Linked DNA regions of Homo sapiens: region 2 is linked to region 1. The links are contacts of gene promoters, found by promoter capture Hi-C in blood cells and fetal thymus (Javierre and others, 2016). All regions are on one chromosome and are shown on one strand. Each heading gives the region's core, a stretch centred on a gene start or on the middle of the fragment in contact. The rest is flanking DNA. Distances are from core to core; before and after follow the strand shown.

Region 1 (2,944 bases), core at 170-2,669:
ATGGAGAGCATCCTGGATTATCTGTGGGAGCCCAGTGTAATCATGAGGCTACTTAAAAGTGAAAGCGGAAGACAGAAGAAGAGTCAAGAGTGAAATGTGACCCCGGAAGAACTTTCAGAGGCGCAATGTTGCTGGCCCTGAAGATGGAGGAAGGGCTGCTGAGCCAAATAAGGTAGGTGGCCTCCGGAAGATGGAAAGAGGATTCACCCCAAGAGCTTCCAGAAAGGAAGGCAACCCTGCCAACACTTTGATTTTAACCCAGTGAGACCTCAGTAGGACTGCTACAGAATCCTAAGATAGTAAATTGTGTATGTGAGTGTGTGTGTGTGTGTGTGTGTGCGCGCGCGCGCGCGTTCCTATGTGTTTAAGCCACTAAAGCCATGTAATTTGTTATGGCAGCGAATTAAAAAAACTGATACAAATCAACATCACCGTATTTCCGTAATACAATCATATAACTGCGGTGCCAGGCCGTGTAGAATCGAATCTTCCTATATGCATGCGTGGCAGCAAAAAGAAAGGCAATAGAACGTCTGCCTGTTGTACAGACTGGAAACACAGTATTCTCCTTCGGATGTCTCCTTCAAGAAAAACCTTGCCTATTCTGACACGCCAGCCATGACTGCACAACACTGCCCCTACCAAGAATCGTTTTCTTAAGAAATCCGTTTTCCTAAGGACTATCTCCAGAGACACTCGGAGAAAACAGCGAGGGCCGGGCGCGGTGGCTCACGCCTGTAATCCCAGCACTTTGGGAGGCCGAGGCGTGCGGATCACGAGGTCAGGAGATCGTATCCATCCTGGTTAACACGGTGAAACCCCGTCTCTACTAAAAATACAAAAAAAAAAATTAGCCAGGCGTGGTGGCGGGCGCCTGTAGTCCCAGCTACTCTACTCGGGAGGCTGAGGCTGGAGAATGGCGTGAACCCGGGAGGCGGAGCTTGCAGTGAGCCGAGATCGCGCCACTGCACTCCAGCCTGAGCGACAGAGCGAGACTCCGTCTCAAAAAAAAAAAAAAAAAAAAAAAAGAGAGAAAACAGCGAGGAAACACAAATAACTTTATGTTTCAATTTCCTCAATGAAGCAAAGCAAACAAGTGACAAGGCTCGAAGCCCTGACGGCCCAGAGACTGCACAGCGGGCCCAGGAGCAGGTGCGCCCCCTCGAAGGCGGCGTGGCCTCCGCGACTCGGCTGCGGGCAGCTCCCGGGGAGCAGGGTCTCAACTCCGGCGCTGTCCCACTTCCGTCGGCGCTGAGGGCTCCCACCTCCCTTTCCACCCCCGGCTCTCCAGCCCGGGACTGCCAGCGGCGGGAGTGGCAGCCGGGGAAGGGACTCCCCACTCACCCGCGTCCGCCCGCCGAGCGCAGCTCCCCAAGGCCCAGCGCGCCTGCCCTTCCCGGAAAACAGCAGCGCCTGAAACGCCGGAACCCCGGGAGGCACTGGGAGGGGAAGGCCCGGGTTCTCGAAACTGTCGCTGCCTCCTGCAGAAGCGCCGCGGGAGAGCTGCGGGGTCTTCCTGAGGAGGTGGCCCTCGCAGGAACAGCTGGGTTCCCCGCGAAAAGAAAAAGACAGTGAAAAAGAAAACTGCTTTAACGGCGATTTTTCTTTAGCATTTAACCAATGCTCAAATACTAAACATGGTTGTCTCCAATGATTAGTCACTAACAGAAAAAAAAACTAATTTCACTTTCGATTTTTAAAAAGGGGTGGTTTTGCGGAGGAAAGCAGAAGTATACCTGAAGTTTCCGTACACACTAATTTTAGGGAACGCTTTCTAAAACCAGTTTTTTGCATGTATTTTATAAGGTATGTTGGAAAAGTGGATAGAAACCAAATAAAGTCAAAGCAGGAATCGCTCTTCATCAGATTGTAACTCTTTTGTAATTTCTTAGTCATTGTAACACTAGTTGACAAATGTTTACAGTCAGCACAAGATCGGCGTTTCTGTGTCTTTTGTAACATCCCCCGGGGCCATGAAGTTGGGAAAGCTGTGGTGTTCCTGTTGGTTTCTGTGACCCATGTCCCTTGAAAGTTTTCTTATAATCTCTTGTTTTGTTGTGGAGCTTGTAAATAAATACTTCACTAGGTGTGAACTTTTCCTTTGAAAATTCAAACATCTGGTTTATTTCAAGAACTGCAGTGTCTCTTAATCCCACACAAAGAACCACCCCACAGCTGCCCCGGCTCATAAATACAGATGTGGGAAGAAAATGAGTCAAAATTATTTCAAGGCATAAATTATAGGTTATCATGCTACCTAGTCACATATAATAACTGATACAGTGGTCTAAAATAGTTTAACAAAAGTAAAATTTCTTTGTATCAAAAAGGTTGATGGGAACCAGTTTAAAGTGGTGACATTTCTCTTTTTTTTTTTTTTTTTTGAGATGAGTCTTGCTCTGTTGCCCAGTCTCCAACTCCTGAGCTCAAGCAGTCCTTCCACCTCCACTCCCAAGTAGCTGGGATTACAGGAATTCACGACCGCACCCAGATTTTTTGTACTTTTAATTTGGGTGCTGGGGGCAGGTATCTAACTGTTTCCCAGGCTGATCTTGAGCTCTGGCCCAAGTGATCCCACCACCTCAGCCTCCTGTAAAATGGCATTTCTAAGTAAAAAAAACGACTTCTTTGTGCTTATCAGACCAGTTAGAAAATACAAAAACTCCTTCTGCTGCAACTTGAGAAAGAATTACTTTAGTTTTACCTTGAAATTTTAGAGGGAATATGAACTCTCGAGGTTATTTAGTTGAACCTCATTTCTTCTTATTTTTATTTTTTACAAGAAGATACTAAAGGACAGGACCATGGCCAGAACAGGACTAACTTAATATATTGACTCAGATTCTGTTTAAAAGGCAAATGATACAGGTGGAGGGGAAGTCTTTTTGGACACCTACATTCTAAAGCTGAGACATGTACTAACAGTCTGAATTTAACTCAGCTT
Region 2 (2,944 bases), core at 222-2,721, 2.4 Mb before region 1:
CAGATGAACGAATGAATGATGACTGAACACAGTGACACACAGATACGTCTCTGTCCACTTGAGATAATCCTGACCTCCTCAGATAAACCAGTGTATGCAAGGTTCTGGGCATCTTCTGGTGGGCTCAGGGAAACTGAGAATTGGATTGTCCTCTCTAGTATATTATGAAGTTGATCATTTAAGATGATGGGTCTCTGAGCCAGAGCCTGAGAATTACTTAATTTAAAAACAGATGAGAAGGTGGCACCTGGGTCTTTTTAATCTACTTCCACTGCACATGAGGAGATGAAATAGAACTGGTACTACTTACAAGGGTTTATAAAAGTTGATTTTAGTAGGTCTGTCCTCTCAGCTAGGCAGAGAACACTTGTATTTTCAGGTATTACCCGAATTTAAGCAACAGATGTGTTCCTAAAATTAACTAACTTATTTGTTTTATGATCATTTGTTCAGCACCCAATAACATCTAACTTTCAAGAGCTTATCCTATATACATGTCAGGCACCGTGCTAGGTGCTTTAAAAGCATCTGTCTTTTAATTCCCCCAGAAATCACAAGATGATATTATTCCAATGACAGAGATGAGGAAACTGAGTCTTAAGGAAATTAAGACTTCTTAATTTCCTCCGCTCTTAATTTCCTCCGCCTGTTGGTCATACATCTAATAAGTGGCTGAGGTGGGATTCACACTCATGCATTGCTTCTTCCTAGGGTAGAATCCTTATTCAGTATGCTGCCCACTATGTGCTAGATGCTACAGACACAAAGATATCAAGCAGATATCACCACCCAAGTGCAGTGCTAGAGACAGGCACAGCAGATTAGGGGAACATCAAGGAGGGCCACCAACTCTTTATAGGTGTTTAGTGAGCTGGGAAAGTCTGAGGAAGGAGGGTTGAGCTAGGTCTTAGAGGAAAAGGAAGTTCTGGAAAAATAGAGTGGACACTCAGTTGTTCTGCCAGCCCGGCACCATGTCTGGGAATACCATCCCTCTTCTTTTGGGAACCTTCCCACCAAGGGATTCCTCCATAATCTTACAAAATCCCTGATTCTGGTTGATTGGTTTAGCACTAGATGCCAACCTAAACCAAGGCCAATCAAACCCAAACTCTGAACAGACATCCATCCTTATCTAGTGGTAGAAGTTGAAGGATGAAACCCAGGGGCTATTGGGAGCTGTTTCCCAAGTGATTTTCTTTTGGGATCAGGATGATCCAGACCCAGTTATCTAGAGATTTTAACCGGAAATATTGGATATGACCTCCATCCGGTTCCGGCTTGGGCAGCCAGACCGGACTTGCAGGCTCTTGGAGGTCGCATCCTGTCCTTCCCCCGGCAGGTAGAGTGACTACAAGTCCCGGGATGCGCAGCGCTCGGAGTCGGGCGGGGGCCGGGCGGACCTCTACGGTGACGTCACCGTCCCGGGGCGGGCCAGGGGAGGGCGGGGCGGAGGGGCGGGTCTCAAGGCGGCAGAGCGCGCTGGTGCTGATGCAGGATGGCTGAGCGCGCAGGAGCCCGGGAGGTCTGAGCCGGGCGAGGCTCGCTCCCTGCGCATCGCCTCCTCCGCCCGCCGCGTGGTCGCGGGCAGGTGGGCCGGGGGGCGCTGGGCAGGGGCGGGGCAGGGCCAGGGCAGGCCGGTCTGCAGCCGGAGGGGCCGGAGCGGAGAAGCTGCCCACCTTCCCGGGCTCGGAGCGGCCGGGGCTGCTCAGCCGGCCGGGCTCGCGATGACCTGCTGAGAAGCGTCGTCGGAGGCTGCAGGAGGCGGCCTAGCTGTGGGCGGTGCAGCTCGCGGCCTCCTCCCTCGTCGTTCCCGGCCCCGGCCCCCCACCCATCCCCGTGCCCCCTCCCTACCGCCGGCCGAGATGGCGGATCCAGCCGAATGCAGCATCAAAGTGATGTGCCGGTTCCGGCCCCTCAACGAAGCGGAGATCCTCCGCGGGGACAAATTCATCCCCAAATTTAAAGGCGATGAGACCGTGGTGATCGGGGTAAGTGGCTGGGGCGTCTGCCTTCCCTGCTGCTCCGCGCCGCAGCTGGGCGCCCCGACGCCCCAGACGCAGCGGAGGTGTTTAGGCCGCCCCCTCGGACATTCCCGCGGGGCTGGCCTCTCGGGTGGACCTGACCAGAGACCCCTCGCCCCGCGCACTATGGTTCCCTCCCGGGCGGGTGGAGAGGCGGCCGGGAGCGGCGGGCCGGGCGGGGGTGGCGGGGGTGGGGATGGGGGGCGAAGACGGGCTCGGCGCCGCCATTGTTCGCCGGGTGGGGGCCCGGGTGGGCCCATTGTTCCCCACGCTCGCCTCGCCGCGTGGGTAGTGTGTTCGGGTGACCCTCAAGCCGGGTGCCCAGGCCCCCTTTAAAGTGTGAGCTCTGCAACCCGCAAATGCTTCTGGGCATCAATCAATTCGATTTACCAAACGCCTTGCCTCTTCTTCTCACGACCCTAGCAAAAAAGAAAGAAAAAGGGGTACAGGAAAATTTCTAGTCGCGTCTCGGAGCTCCCGCGGCAGTGTAGACGCGGCTCCCCGCGGTGTTACACCTGGCTCCGCGCGCGGAAGGCGGAGGGTTGGGGGAGTACTGGTGGCCTCGGTGTCCCCTGGAGGCCTGGTGTGTCTCCCGCTTCCTCTCACGCCTGGCTGCCCTGGATGTGGAGTCCCGGCTTGATCCCTCCCCTCTGGGATGACCTCCCTCCCATGTCTGCAGACCCTCTGATGCGCCTCACGCTGGGTGGAGAGGAGGCTGTGTCCACATCTGTGGGGCGAGGGGGCTCAGAGCGCAGTAGCCCCCTGTGCCAAGAGCAGAAGTTACTTCGTGCGGCTCGGACCCCCCTCCCTCTCTATCTCCCTTCCCCACCTTTTCTCCCCCACCCCCTCCCCCTACTTAGCTCCCTCTCTGCAGCTGGGGCTGCTGGTAGGGGGAGGGAACACCAATGGATTGTAGTTCTTAA

What was found. Contacts are between HindIII fragments. The CHiCAGO score rates a contact against its expected background, and 5 or more counts as called.
Region 2: the fragment with the promoter of KIF5C here is called in contact with the fragment with the promoter of NMI in region 1 in 1 of 17 cell types (naive CD8 T cells); the score reaches 11.7 in naive CD8 T cells.

What each region holds. Positions count from the first base shown.
Region 1 is chr2:151,288,249-151,291,192 of GRCh38, forward strand. NMI (N-myc and STAT interactor) reads right to left here and starts at 1,420. Exons shown (of 8, transcript NM_004688.3): 1 at 1,345-1,420. RefSeq lists enhancers at 1-138, 939-988, 1,009-1,058, 1,449-1,528, 1,589-2,008 and a silencer at 1,189-1,388. The HindIII fragment of the contact is 4,870 bases long and covers 1-2,944 here.
Region 2 is chr2:148,873,756-148,876,699 of GRCh38, forward strand. KIF5C (kinesin family member 5C) reads left to right here and starts at 1,472. Exons shown (of 26, transcript NM_004522.3): 1 at 1,472-1,988. The coding sequence starts at 1,863. KIF5C-AS1 (KIF5C antisense RNA 1) reads right to left here. Exons shown (of 4, transcript XR_001739733.2): 4 at 1-2,440. RefSeq lists a silencer at 1,296-1,765 and enhancers at 2,138-2,716, 2,717-2,944. The HindIII fragment of the contact is 10,493 bases long and covers 1-2,944 here.